Regions from separate parts of the Homo sapiens genome. Here region 2 is linked to region 1. The links are contacts of gene promoters, found by promoter capture Hi-C in human tissues and cell types (Jung and others, 2019). All regions are on one chromosome and are shown on one strand. Each heading gives the region's core, a stretch centred on a gene start or on the middle of the fragment in contact. The rest is flanking DNA. Distances are from core to core; before and after follow the strand shown.

Evidence for each region. The method cuts DNA at HindIII sites, captures the fragments that hold promoters and counts their contacts. A contact is called where the count stands out against the background at its distance.
Region 2: a contact is called between a fragment that was not itself captured here and the fragment with the promoter of CHD9 in region 1, in 1 of the 25 tissues and cell types used here (mesendoderm cells).

The regions. Positions count from the first base shown.
Region 1 is chr16:53,051,659-53,057,408 of GRCh38, forward strand. CHD9 (chromodomain helicase DNA binding protein 9) reads left to right here and starts at 3,333. Exons shown (of 39, transcript NM_001308319.2): 1 at 3,333-3,419. CHD9NB (CHD9 neighbor) reads right to left here and starts at 1,239. Exons shown (of 3, transcript NM_001396020.1): 1 at 1,103-1,239. RefSeq lists enhancers at 3,627-4,158, 3,671-3,720. The HindIII fragment of the contact is 13,928 bases long and covers 1-5,750 here.
Region 2 is chr16:51,899,503-51,905,252 of GRCh38, forward strand. No RefSeq gene overlaps it. Among named protein-coding and RNA genes, the nearest start is that of LINC01571, 140 kb to the left of the region's middle. The HindIII fragment of the contact is 4,381 bases long and covers 1,474-5,750 here.

The DNA.
Region 1 (5,750 bases), core at 2,083-4,582:
ATCTAATGTAAATGACAAGTTAATGGGTGCAGCACACCAACATGGCACATGTATACATATGTAACAAACCTGCACATTGTGCACCTGTACCCTACAACTTAAAAGTATAAATATATATATATATATATATATATATATATATATATATATATAATGAGTACCTTGCCTATCCTGTTCCATATATAAAGCACAGCGTCCAGCACATAGTAGGTGCTTAGTAAACAGTAGTGAGGTGTTCAGGGCATGTGCCTTGGAATAAGATAATCCAGATTCACGTTCTGGGTACATTACTTGCTAACTCCTCTACCTAGGGCAAGTTACTTAAACATCGCAAGTCTCAGTTTCTTCGCTGAGAAAGTGGGGAGAGTAACAGTGCCTACTTTGTAGGATTACTGTGAAGATTAAACTAAATTGTCAATCTAAAATCCTTAGTGCATGAGCCAGGTATGGCAGCTTGTGTCTATAATCCCAGCTACTTAGGAGGTTGGGGTGGGAGAAATGCTTGATGCTAGGAGTTCTAGACCAGCCTGAGCAACATAAAAAAAAAAAAAAACAATAAACCCCATCTCTTAAAAAAAAAAGAAATTAAAATTTAAAAATTAGCCAGGCATGGTGGCACATGCCTGCAGTCCCAGCTACTTGGGAGTCTGAGGTGGGAAGATCCCTTGAGCTCGAATTTGTGGCTGCAATGAACAATGATCACCTGGATGACAGAACAAGACCCCATCTCTTAAAGAAAACTGTTAGTGTCTAACACGTTATAAATATTTTATTATTGTTATTTACATACTTCAGCCTACCAAAACTCCTGTTTTCCATGGAGAAAACAGATCTGTTGATAACTCTGCAGTTTCCAGAAACACTGTGATTAGCAGAATGAGAAAAATGCCAGGAGAACTCAGAAGAGAAAGTCACTAGGAAGACTTAATCTCATCAGGTGATGCCAGAATCCAGAGGTTGTAATCTAGGACTTTGCCCAGGCATGCTTTGGGGCACAGTGGTGGGGAGGGAGCTGTTGCAAAGATGGGGCAAGAATGGTCTGGACATGACTCAGACACTTTAAAGTGAAAGAATGGGAAATTGTCTGGCAGCTGGTACTTACCATGGGCAGTCAGCACTCCTCTGACTGATTCACCTTCACCAGGGCACCAGCCTGCAGTGAAGTAGCTGGGGCTGGTTCCTTTTAGTGACACCCACCACCCCTTGCCCTTCCAGGTATTGTCCACAGATGACACCTCCTCCTCCTCCTCCTGCTCCTCCTCCTGCTCTGCCTCCTCCTCCTCCCCCTGCTCCTGCTTCTCCTCCTCTTCCTCCTGCTCCTTCTCCTCCTCCTCCTGCTCCTCCTCCTGCTCTTCCTCCTCCTCCTGCTCTTCCTCCTCCTCCTCCTGCTTCTCCTCCTCTTCTTCCTCCTGCTCTTTCTCCTCCTCTTCCTGCTCCTCCTCTCCTTCTGCTCCTCCTGCTTCTCCTCCTCCTGCTCCTCCTCCTCCACCTGCTCCTCCTCCTTCTCCTCCTCCTGCTCCTCCTCCTTCTGCTCCTTCTTCTCCTGCTCCTCTTCCTCCTGCTCCTGCTTCTCCTCCTTTCTCCTGCTCCTCCTCCTCCTGCTCCTCCTCCTGCTCCTCATCCTCCTTCTCCTCCTGCTCCTCCTTGTCCTCCTCTGCCCTTGATATTCACTTTGACCAGATTACACCAGTACAGAGAGTCCAAAGGTTAAATAGGCACACACTCACACACAAACTCACACTGGGCTAGAACAATGACAGAGCGTCCTGGGGGAGCAGAGTGGGGGCCGGGGGGAGGGGGAAAGGAGGATTGCAGGCCTAACTTTCACAAATCACCTGAAATTTCCACTGAAGGCATTATCTCCAAATGTTGCCACAGAGATAAACTGCCAGGATTACAAGAAAACGTGAAGACGTTCCCATAGAACTCTGTAATGCTTATATCCATCACCAGGAATGTCTGCCCTTGGCGCCCTAAACATAGATTGATTGATTGATTGATTGATTGATTTTGAGGCAGAGTCTCACTCTGTCACCCAGGCTGGAGTGCAGTGGTGCGATCTCAGCTCACTGCAACCTCCTCCTTCCGGGTTCAAGGGATTCTCCCACCTCAGCCTTGGAGTAGTTGGGATTACAGGCTCCTGCCACCACGCCCGGCTAATTTTTGTATTTTTTGTAGAGACTGGGTTTTGCCATGTTGGCTAGGCTGGTCTCAAACTCCTGACCTCAAGCGATCCTCTTGCCTCAGCCTTCCAAAGTGCTGGGATTACAGGCGTGAGCTACGGTGCCTGGCCCTAAATATAGATATTTTTAATAAATCCTCTACTTATCTCACAACGAGCTCAATCGCTTTGCATTAGATCGTTGGGTGTGTTAAAAGTATTCATGTGTTACATTAAATGTGAATTCAACAAAAGCAGAGATTTTTGTGTTTTGTTCTTCATTGTATCCCTTGATTGTAGAAAAGTGGCACATAGTAGGTGCTCAGTTAATCGTTGTTAAATGAAGACATAAATGAAATATAAACCATTAAATGTCCACCATATTTGTAAGCGTTTTGGCATGTCTTCATTGAAAGAATACCAGGCAGCTGGGAGCCATAGTTTACTCCGGTAATCCCAGTGCTTTGGGAGGCTGCAGGTGAGAGGATCGCTTGAGACCAGGAGTTCAAGAGCCACCAGGGCAACATAGAGAGACCTTGTCTCTACAAAAACAAAACAAAACAAAACAAAAAACAAAAAACACAATTCCCTTAAGCCGCCCCTTCCCCTTCCACTGCTCAGAGAAGGCCTTCCAGCAGAGCAGAGCACGAGGTCGCTGGCACACACCCATCCTCCACCAGTCCTGGCCTCTGTAGAGCAAGCCAGCAGAGCAGGCTGTTTCTCTCATTCAGGGACGGTTTAGGGGGTGGCAGGAAAAAATGGTTGCTGATAGGCGAAGGGCCTCCCTGGGTTGGAGAGAACCCCAGCCTCGGATGGTCCCAGCACATTTAAAAGAGAAGCAGTGCCAAAGGTGGGGTGCACTGAAAGCTGCTGGATGAAGGGAAAGATCCTTGTGCTCAGCCCGGAAAACCGGAGGATGGATACCAGGCCGAGGGGTCCCTCCGTGCCCCAAGAGAAAGTTCACCAAGTTTAGATCCCAGTGCCCCGCAGCGGGTGAAGGTGGTCCCGCCCCAGGCCGGATCTGGCCACAGGGCTGGCGGCGCGCTGGAAAACCGCCCACGTGGGAAGAAGCCCTGGCTGCATTTCCGCCCTGGACTGCGCTCCCGCCTGCCAGCGCGGTCCCTGCGCAGCCGCCCCGCGCCCACTAGGTGGCGCCTGCGCTCTAGTGGGCGCTTCACAGGCGCAGCGACAGCGACAGCGACAGCTCGAACCTGAGTCCCAGGATTCCGGGGACTGGAGGGCAGCGCCGGCAGCCAAGGTAGGATTCCTGAGCCCCGGGCGTCTCCCTGGAGCCTCTGAGGTCGGGGTGGACAGCGGGGCGGCCGCTGGGCACCGCTTGCGGTCTGCAGAGATAACCGGAGGAGTCGGGGCGGCAGCACGTGTTGTAGCCGTGGGGGGGACCCAGAGACCCGCAGCCTCGGAGCTGGGCCTAGAGCAAGGCAGAGCACCAGGTCGCTGGCACGCTCGCATCCTCCCCAGCCCTCGCCTCCCAGAGCATGCCCGAATCCCCAAGCCGGGCGTCCTCGAAGCGGAAAGCAGCCACTGTCGCCCAGAGCCACTCCAGGGTGGCAGCCGAGTGCTGATAAGGTCCAGAGCACCACTTCTTAAACTTGTCTGCCCGTTGGCGTTGCTTGGGAAGCATTAAAAAAATACCGATGCCCTAGTTCCACCCCCGCCCCCCCCCAGAGACTCAGATGTGATTGGTCTGGGTGGGGGACTGGACATCTGGGTATTAAAATGTTTGCAAGAGATTCCAGCTGGCAGCCAAATTTGAGGACCCTTGATCTAAGGAGTTGGAGAAAAACGGAGGACATTTGTTTGTTCTAACCCAGAATGCTGATGATTCCCTCCTCCTCCTATTCCTCCAGTTCGCCCTCCTCCTCCTTTCTCATGTGCCTTTTAAGCAGGAAATGCCTCTGCCTTTGTACTGTCAAACCCAAGATAACAAACTAACCATCCCCCACCCCCCACAGTAGGGCTGGTTCTGAAAGGGTTGAACTCGAAAGTGGACAAGGAACAGAAAGACACCAGTGTGGAATGTGAGCGAAGACTCTTAGGGGTTTATGGGTAGGAAGGGGGTTCCTCCCCACCCTGATCCCAGAGAAGATCAGGAGACTGGCTGGAGCTGTCTTCCTCATTTTGGCAAACCTAGCTGATTAGGCAGTGAGAGGCCTTATAACGAGCCTTTTTTACAACTAGTAAAAGGGCCCTTTTACAACTAGTAAAAATGAGCCCTTATGTTTGTTTGTTTTATAGAGATAGGGCCTCACTATATTCCCCAGGATGGTCTCAAACTCCTAGGCTCAAGCCATTCTCCAGCCTCGGCCTCCCAAAGTGCTGGGATTATAGGCATGAGCCGCTGCGCCCCGCTGACCCCTTATGTTTATATAACAGCAGTGTTACTAACATGGGCATAGATTCCCCCCCATAGGCAGCCCTTCCTTTGTGACCTTGGAAACTCACTGAACCATCCTCAGCTTCAGTTTTTGTATCTGCAAAATGGGTGTGAAAATCGGGTTGCCTTGGGAATTATTCACAATAAAAGCTACTGTTTACTAAGGGTTCACCCTATGCTAGAGGCTTTCTGTGCAGGGCCAAGTTAGACTCCTGACCATAACTTCCACGGTAGAACTATGAATACTGCATTTGATAGCCAAGGAAACTGAGGCTCAGAGAGGCCAATGATCTTGCTCGAAGTTATATAATTAATTAATAAGAAGCATGTCCCATATTTGAACCCAGGCAGTCTGCTCTTGAGCTCAGGTGCAAAAGAACAATACTCTGCTGTTTCCCTTGTTGACCAGGACAGCGTGCACGGGGCAGGCGCGTGGTGTGTCTTCACAAACACTAGCTATCACTGCTGTGAGCTGAGCACTTCCACTGAATTGACTCATTCGCTCATTGGAAATACATTTATTATTGAGAGCCTACTGTGGGCCAGGCAGTTTTCCAGATGCTAGAGATAAAATATGAGTAAGACAGAATTCAGCCAGCCCCGAATGAGAGAAACAGGAAGAAAGTGCAGTAGATTCTCATTATTCACAAGTTCTAAATTTGCAAATTCTTCCCTGTAATCCCAGCACTTTGAGAGGCTGAGGCAGGAGGATCGCTTGAGGCTAGGAGTTTCAGATCAGCCTGTGCAACAGAGCAAGGCCCTGTTTGCTTAAAAATTATACACATTGAATAATTCTTAAAAAAAATTTGTTTGTGGCCAGGCATGGTGGCTCATGCATATAATCCCAGTACTTTGGGAAGCTGAGGCAGAAAGATTACTTGAGGCTAGGAGTTCCAGATCAGCCTGGGTAACACAGTAAGACCCTATATCTTTATTTTAAAAATTATATAATTAAAGAATTTTTAAAAAAATATGTTTGTGGCCGGGTGTGGTGGCTCACACCTGTAATCCCAGCACTTTGGGAGACTGAGGTGTGAGGTTAGGAGTTTGAATTTAGGAGTTTGACACCAGCCTAATCACTTGAGCTAAGGAGTTTGAGACCAGCCTGGACAGCATAGAGAGACCTTGGCTCATTTAAAAAAAAAAAGAGGAAAAAAGGCCGGGTGCAGTGGCTCATGCCTGTAATCCCAGCAC
Region 2 (5,750 bases), core at 2,414-4,913, 1.2 Mb before region 1:
AAACCTGAGTTCAATCTCCTCCACCAAGCTGTCTCCTTTGACAAAAGCACGGCAGCTTTGAGGTTAGTGACGCAGGTAGAGCAGTTGCTGAGGCACTGCTCATGAAGGTGGATGGAAGGTTGTTAGCACTTTTTCCTTAGCCCAGGATTTCTGTGAGTGGCAAGTGACCAAAACAGTCCACTCTGAAACACAAGGGGGAATTGAGATTAATGAAAACATGCTACTTAGACTCAAAAATCCTCCAAGATAGAAGAAAAGGGAAAATTTCAAAAAATGAATAAAAATACAAGAGAGGCTACCCTTCCCTTTTCTCCATTTGGATCAGCCAAATAATAGCTGATATTGTTTGTTTCAGTTTACTGAGCCACTCTTACATGCTACACGCAATGTGCTATGTGCATGGGTTATCTCATGCACATGACCACTCACAACTGCACATTGCAACTGCTACTAATATCATCCTCATGCCGTCTTAAAAAAAAAAAAAAAAAAACTGGAGCTCAAAGATGTTAATCAATTTGCCCAAAGTCACATTATTTCTGAATAGCTTTGCTGAGACTTTCATACAGGTTTGGTGACTCCAGTGCCTATGATAGTCTGAAGTATTGGAAATAATTTAAATCCATTCTGGTGAGGAAAAGGGAACGAAAGAGGAGCAGGAGAAGATATTCCAGATTAGAGACCACTGTGGACAACTTCCCCAGTCTACCAAGATCCTAACGGTGTAAATACTGCTGCATCTAGAATATACTTCTAAGCAGTGCCCAGAACCCATAGTGCAGAAGTTGTTTACACAAAAAAGAGAAGAGAGGCAAATATTAAATATATTCAGTGATCTCATTCTTAACTTTTCCCTTCCCTCTACCAGGGTATCTCAGCGAAGCTTTCTGTAAATCTTTGGCCATCAACCAATAACTTTGGTTTTGGCCATTAAAAATAATTCTTCAATGACTCATGAAAAATGAAGAAGCAGCCCCCAAACTGCATGGATTTCCAGCTCTTGAGTCTATTTGAACAGAGACACAATGACATCTATGTTTATTGTCTTCCATGGCTTAGTTGGCCAAATGTGCCTGTAGGAATGGTCTTCCCAGAAGCCCAGGGTGTCTGGCACCATGGCCAATCCTTGTGTAATCCCTATGCCTCCTAGAAGTCTTCCCGAAAATGTATATTTATCTCACTCATGCTCCACTTCATAACCCTGTGGCCCTACCAGGTGCAGGAACATAACTCATAAGAAATATTAACATTGGCTGTTTATCATGGAGCTTGCAAAACAGAAAAGCAATAAAAGTGCAGGCATGCTCACTCAATTACCATTGAAATAGATATCACAAAAATTATTCAGTGTCAGAAATCTAATTTTGTATGATATTTCTATATATTTCCATTGCTAATTTTTCTTCCCTCCAGTATTAGTGAATTAATATGCTTCAAATGCCCCTCAAGCTACCCTAGAAAAAATACTACTTATTTAGTTGAGCTACCCAAATCCATTAGACAAATTTCCTTTACAGCAAAGCATTGATGAATGAAATGTCTCATGCTAATGTAAGAATAATCAATTTAGAATGCTTATGACAATTAACAAAGCTGAAGATATGCCTTGAAGGCTCCATGCTTTGTCAGCCCTGATTTGGATTAAACTTGTGCTAATGGGATCATTTTTCTTCCAAAAGGTATTCTTTTTAGGCAGACCTATCAATTAATATGAATTATGCATGTATAAAAGTACTAATGTCATTAATTAGACAAATTAATTTTTATGATGCAGTGGATAGACTAACACTAGATTATATGTGATAACTTCCCCCACGGCACCCACCGATTTGAAATAAATGAATAGTTTATATTTGTGTGCTTTCCATAGACTCAATCGGGATTAATCAGGCTCGTCTCTGGGCGGGAGATGGTTGAGATGCTGCATATTCTTGATGGTCTTCTCAGCCAGGGGGGTCATTTCAGAGACAATAGAGCCCAAATTGCAACAGAGAGAAACTTTAGAATAATGCTACGCAGGGTCATGGGGGAAGTTAGTAAATTGTAAGCATTTGTGCTGGCAAGCTTTAATTGACTCTTTTCCCCAAATTTACATGCTGTTGTCCAAGTAGACTAAAAAATACAAATAAATATCAGAAAAAAAAGAGTAGGGGGGAAAAAGCATTTTGCAATTGTTGCATTGACAGACATAACTCATTAATGTTGGTCAAATTTGATTGGCACAATATTTATCTTCTAACTGGGTCTAATTTGTAATTTTTTAATCCAGTACGAGCTAGGTTAATTTTCAAATTCATGGAAACATTGACTTTTTTTCAAGCCTAATAAGTTACCTAAAGTGTAAGAGGATGAGGACCATGTGTTAAACTACCTGGTTAAGCTAACTGTTATGTTTTCAATGTTTGTGTCTCTCCACAAGTCATGTGGAAACTTAATCCCAAATGCAATAGGATTAAGAGGTAGGGATGTTTGCAGTTGATTAGATCATAAGGAATTCTCCTTTGTAAATGGGTTTCATGGCCTTATAAATGAGGCTTCACATAGCATTCATAATTTTTGCCCTTCCATCTGCTGCCATGTGAGAACACAGAAACAAGGCATCATCTTGGAAGCAGAAGCGAGCCTTCACCAGACACCAGATATGCTGCACCTTGATCTTGGATTTCCCAGCCTCTAGAACTATGAGAAATGAACTTGTGTGGCTTAAAAAATTACTGTTTACAATATTTTGTTATAGTAGTCTGAATAAACTAAGATATTAGTCATCACCTTTCTCATCCATTTTGCAATAAGGCTTATGATTCCAACAAAATGACCACCATGAGGAAAGTAAGCCCACAATGCTTTTACCCCTTTTATTGCTTTTTACTCTTCAATTCTTTTTTCATGGAAACTTGATACATGAACCTTAGGTTTTCCAACAGGGATAATTGATGACTTTAACAACATATCCTAAAGTCAAACCAATGTATCCCATCACAGCAAGGCTGGTAGGAGTTACAGCAAGCTGAAATAACCTAGGTAATGTCCAAAAGTCAGGCAGGAGAGGTCAAAAGTGATCTCTTGCCCAAGGTTCATACAGCTTCTGCCTGGATCATGGTAAATGCTCAATCAATGTGAGTTAGAAAAAAATAAGTAGAGGTATTCACTTAGCTAAGAATTTGACATGGGTTCACAAAACATATATCACAGAGACACTGAAAACATTTACTCTGTATTCTCAGCATTCTTCGTTGCATTCCACGATGGTATGGCATGGTCATAAAAAGCAAACTCTTTGAGGACAGAGAGTCCTGGATTCAAATCATAGGGTTTTCCACATTCTGGCTAAGTAACACTGGGGGTTCCATGTTGCCTTCCTCACTGAGAAGCCATAAAGCTTCAGTGAGATGGTGGTATCTGCATCTTTACTGCTTGCAGCAAGGCATGAAAGATAATAGGGACTTCTTAGACTAAATGTTGCCTTTGTCCATAATTAAATACCTCCCTGGGCAAATATACTGATGAGTAGTAGAATGGACTTAAGCCTCACAAGGAGATAGGGCATGGTATCACATTCTCCATTCAGTTCTGACTATAAGTTCATCTTTTTACAGTAAGAGGTAGGTAGGGGAGGAGATAATGGAGTGAGTAAATTAATGGATTTAAATCTCACTCCTACCATGTACCAGCAGTGTAACCTCAGGTAACCTCTCGAAGCTTTCTTTTTTGGTCTTTAAGATAAACATAATGATAGGGTAAATCTTAAATAATAGGATTAAATAAATTAAAACTCTCAAAGTGCTTAAAACAAGAACTAGCACATAGTTTGCAAGCAATTGATAAATACGAATAAAATTTATTTGACATCTATTGTGTTCTAAATAATTTAAAGATACGACCTAATTTAAGCTACACTACCTTCTTGAGAGGTTACTGTGAATAACCCCATTTTACAGATGAGAAGATTGAGGCTTAGAGTGATCATCTTGCTCAAGGTCACCCAACTAATAAGTGAAAGAGGAAGGATTTGAACATGGGTTGCCTGAGAATTTATTTAATCAGACTGGGGAGTGCTGTGAGAATAAAGTCTAGAAGTTAGAAAGAGGAACCTCTTCATTTTGAGAAACCTATGACTCATGGAAAAGAGAGAGGGTGCTGGCCATGAAGGTAGAATACTAGGTGGGTTGGGTGACAGTGATAGCTACTCTGGCCAACAGTTAGGCACACCTACTTGGAGTAGCTATTATTAATGGGGCAGATACTAGTATCTTCATTTTATTGATTTGGTTAACTGGTTTATCTTAGAAAATAAAGTTGGCACACAAATACTAGTCTGTCTTATTTCTCAGCCTGTATTATAAACCTCTACACTATAAGGTTTAAAGATTTCTGAATACACAATGATGTAGCAATTGGGAATGCCTCATCTTCCAGTCACCTGTCTCTTCCCCTTATTCTTGTCTTGTTATCTGTGATCACTAAGACTCTACAAGCACCCCTCACTAGTTTCCGGAGGAGGAGAAAAGTTTATAGAAGCCAATCCTATAGCTGTGAAAGGAAGCAATCTAGTCTAGACCAGCAAAGTGATGGTGGGTTATGACCAAGGAGAGTTTCATTTTATAATATCTATCAAAAAGATTTTCTTTCTGGGGTGTCATGCAATGATCTAAATCAGATTTACAAACCTCTGTATAATCTATGATGTCAAACACATCTTTTAGCAGGTTGAGTTTCTAGAGCAGGTAACTGTATTTATCAGTCTAGTTATGGTCCTCATTCAGAGATGGATGGTCATGTTACTCAAGACAGGCCAATGATACTACATCCTGGGCTTTTGTTGAAATGGAAAGTATGAGCTATAAGGCTGATGTAAGCTTGGAGCTTTGAGAGGACCAGCATTTTAAGGGGTTCAGCCTGAGAATGAAGCCAGTACATGGGAAAGCAGAACCAAGAGATGGGGCAAGAGATATTGAATCCTAATGGCGTCATGTGAACACTGGGATATATCCTTCTCTGAAGCCAGATAACCTAAACTTTTCAGTTATGTGAACAAAAATCTCCATATTTGTTTACATTTGTTTGTCAAGTTTTTGTTACTTGCATCTGAGAGATCAGAATAATACAGAAAAGAAAATAATAAAATCCAACAATATCAATGATTTCTAATAGGAGAGTCTGATATTCACTCAAATTCACTAATTCCCTAAAACATTCCTAGAGACTTGTCATTTGAATGAAGCTACCTAAAATTACGGTGGGAGGTTTTTTTTTTTCCTTTTTTTTTTTTGACAGTTACATTTCAGCACATGAAATTCTCGGCTACCAGATTACTTTAGACACAAGTTTATAAAAGTGCCTATTTTATAAATATTTCTTGAAGTCCTTTTTGGTTGTTGTTACAAAGGAGATTGCATAACTTGTTAATTAAGTGTGAACGAGGGTTTCCTGGGAGAGTGAAATGACCACTGATCTATATGGTTCAGTCACAGTGGACTTAATATTCAAAGGAAATGGTCATTTAGAACCAGCATTCACTTGTTCATCTACATTTCTTTCTTCCTTGGTATCTACAATTTAGTCACCAGCCAAATCTTCAATAGTCTCCATTTTTATTCTGAATATAAAAAGTTTCCCATGATGCTTAATATTGAGCAAACTTGTTCTATTGATTACTTGAGCGAATCATTGATAAGATCAGCAATTTTCCCTTTAGTCATTCACTATATCTTGTGTAAACAAGTGAGTATTGAGTGGTGCATTTGCTCCTC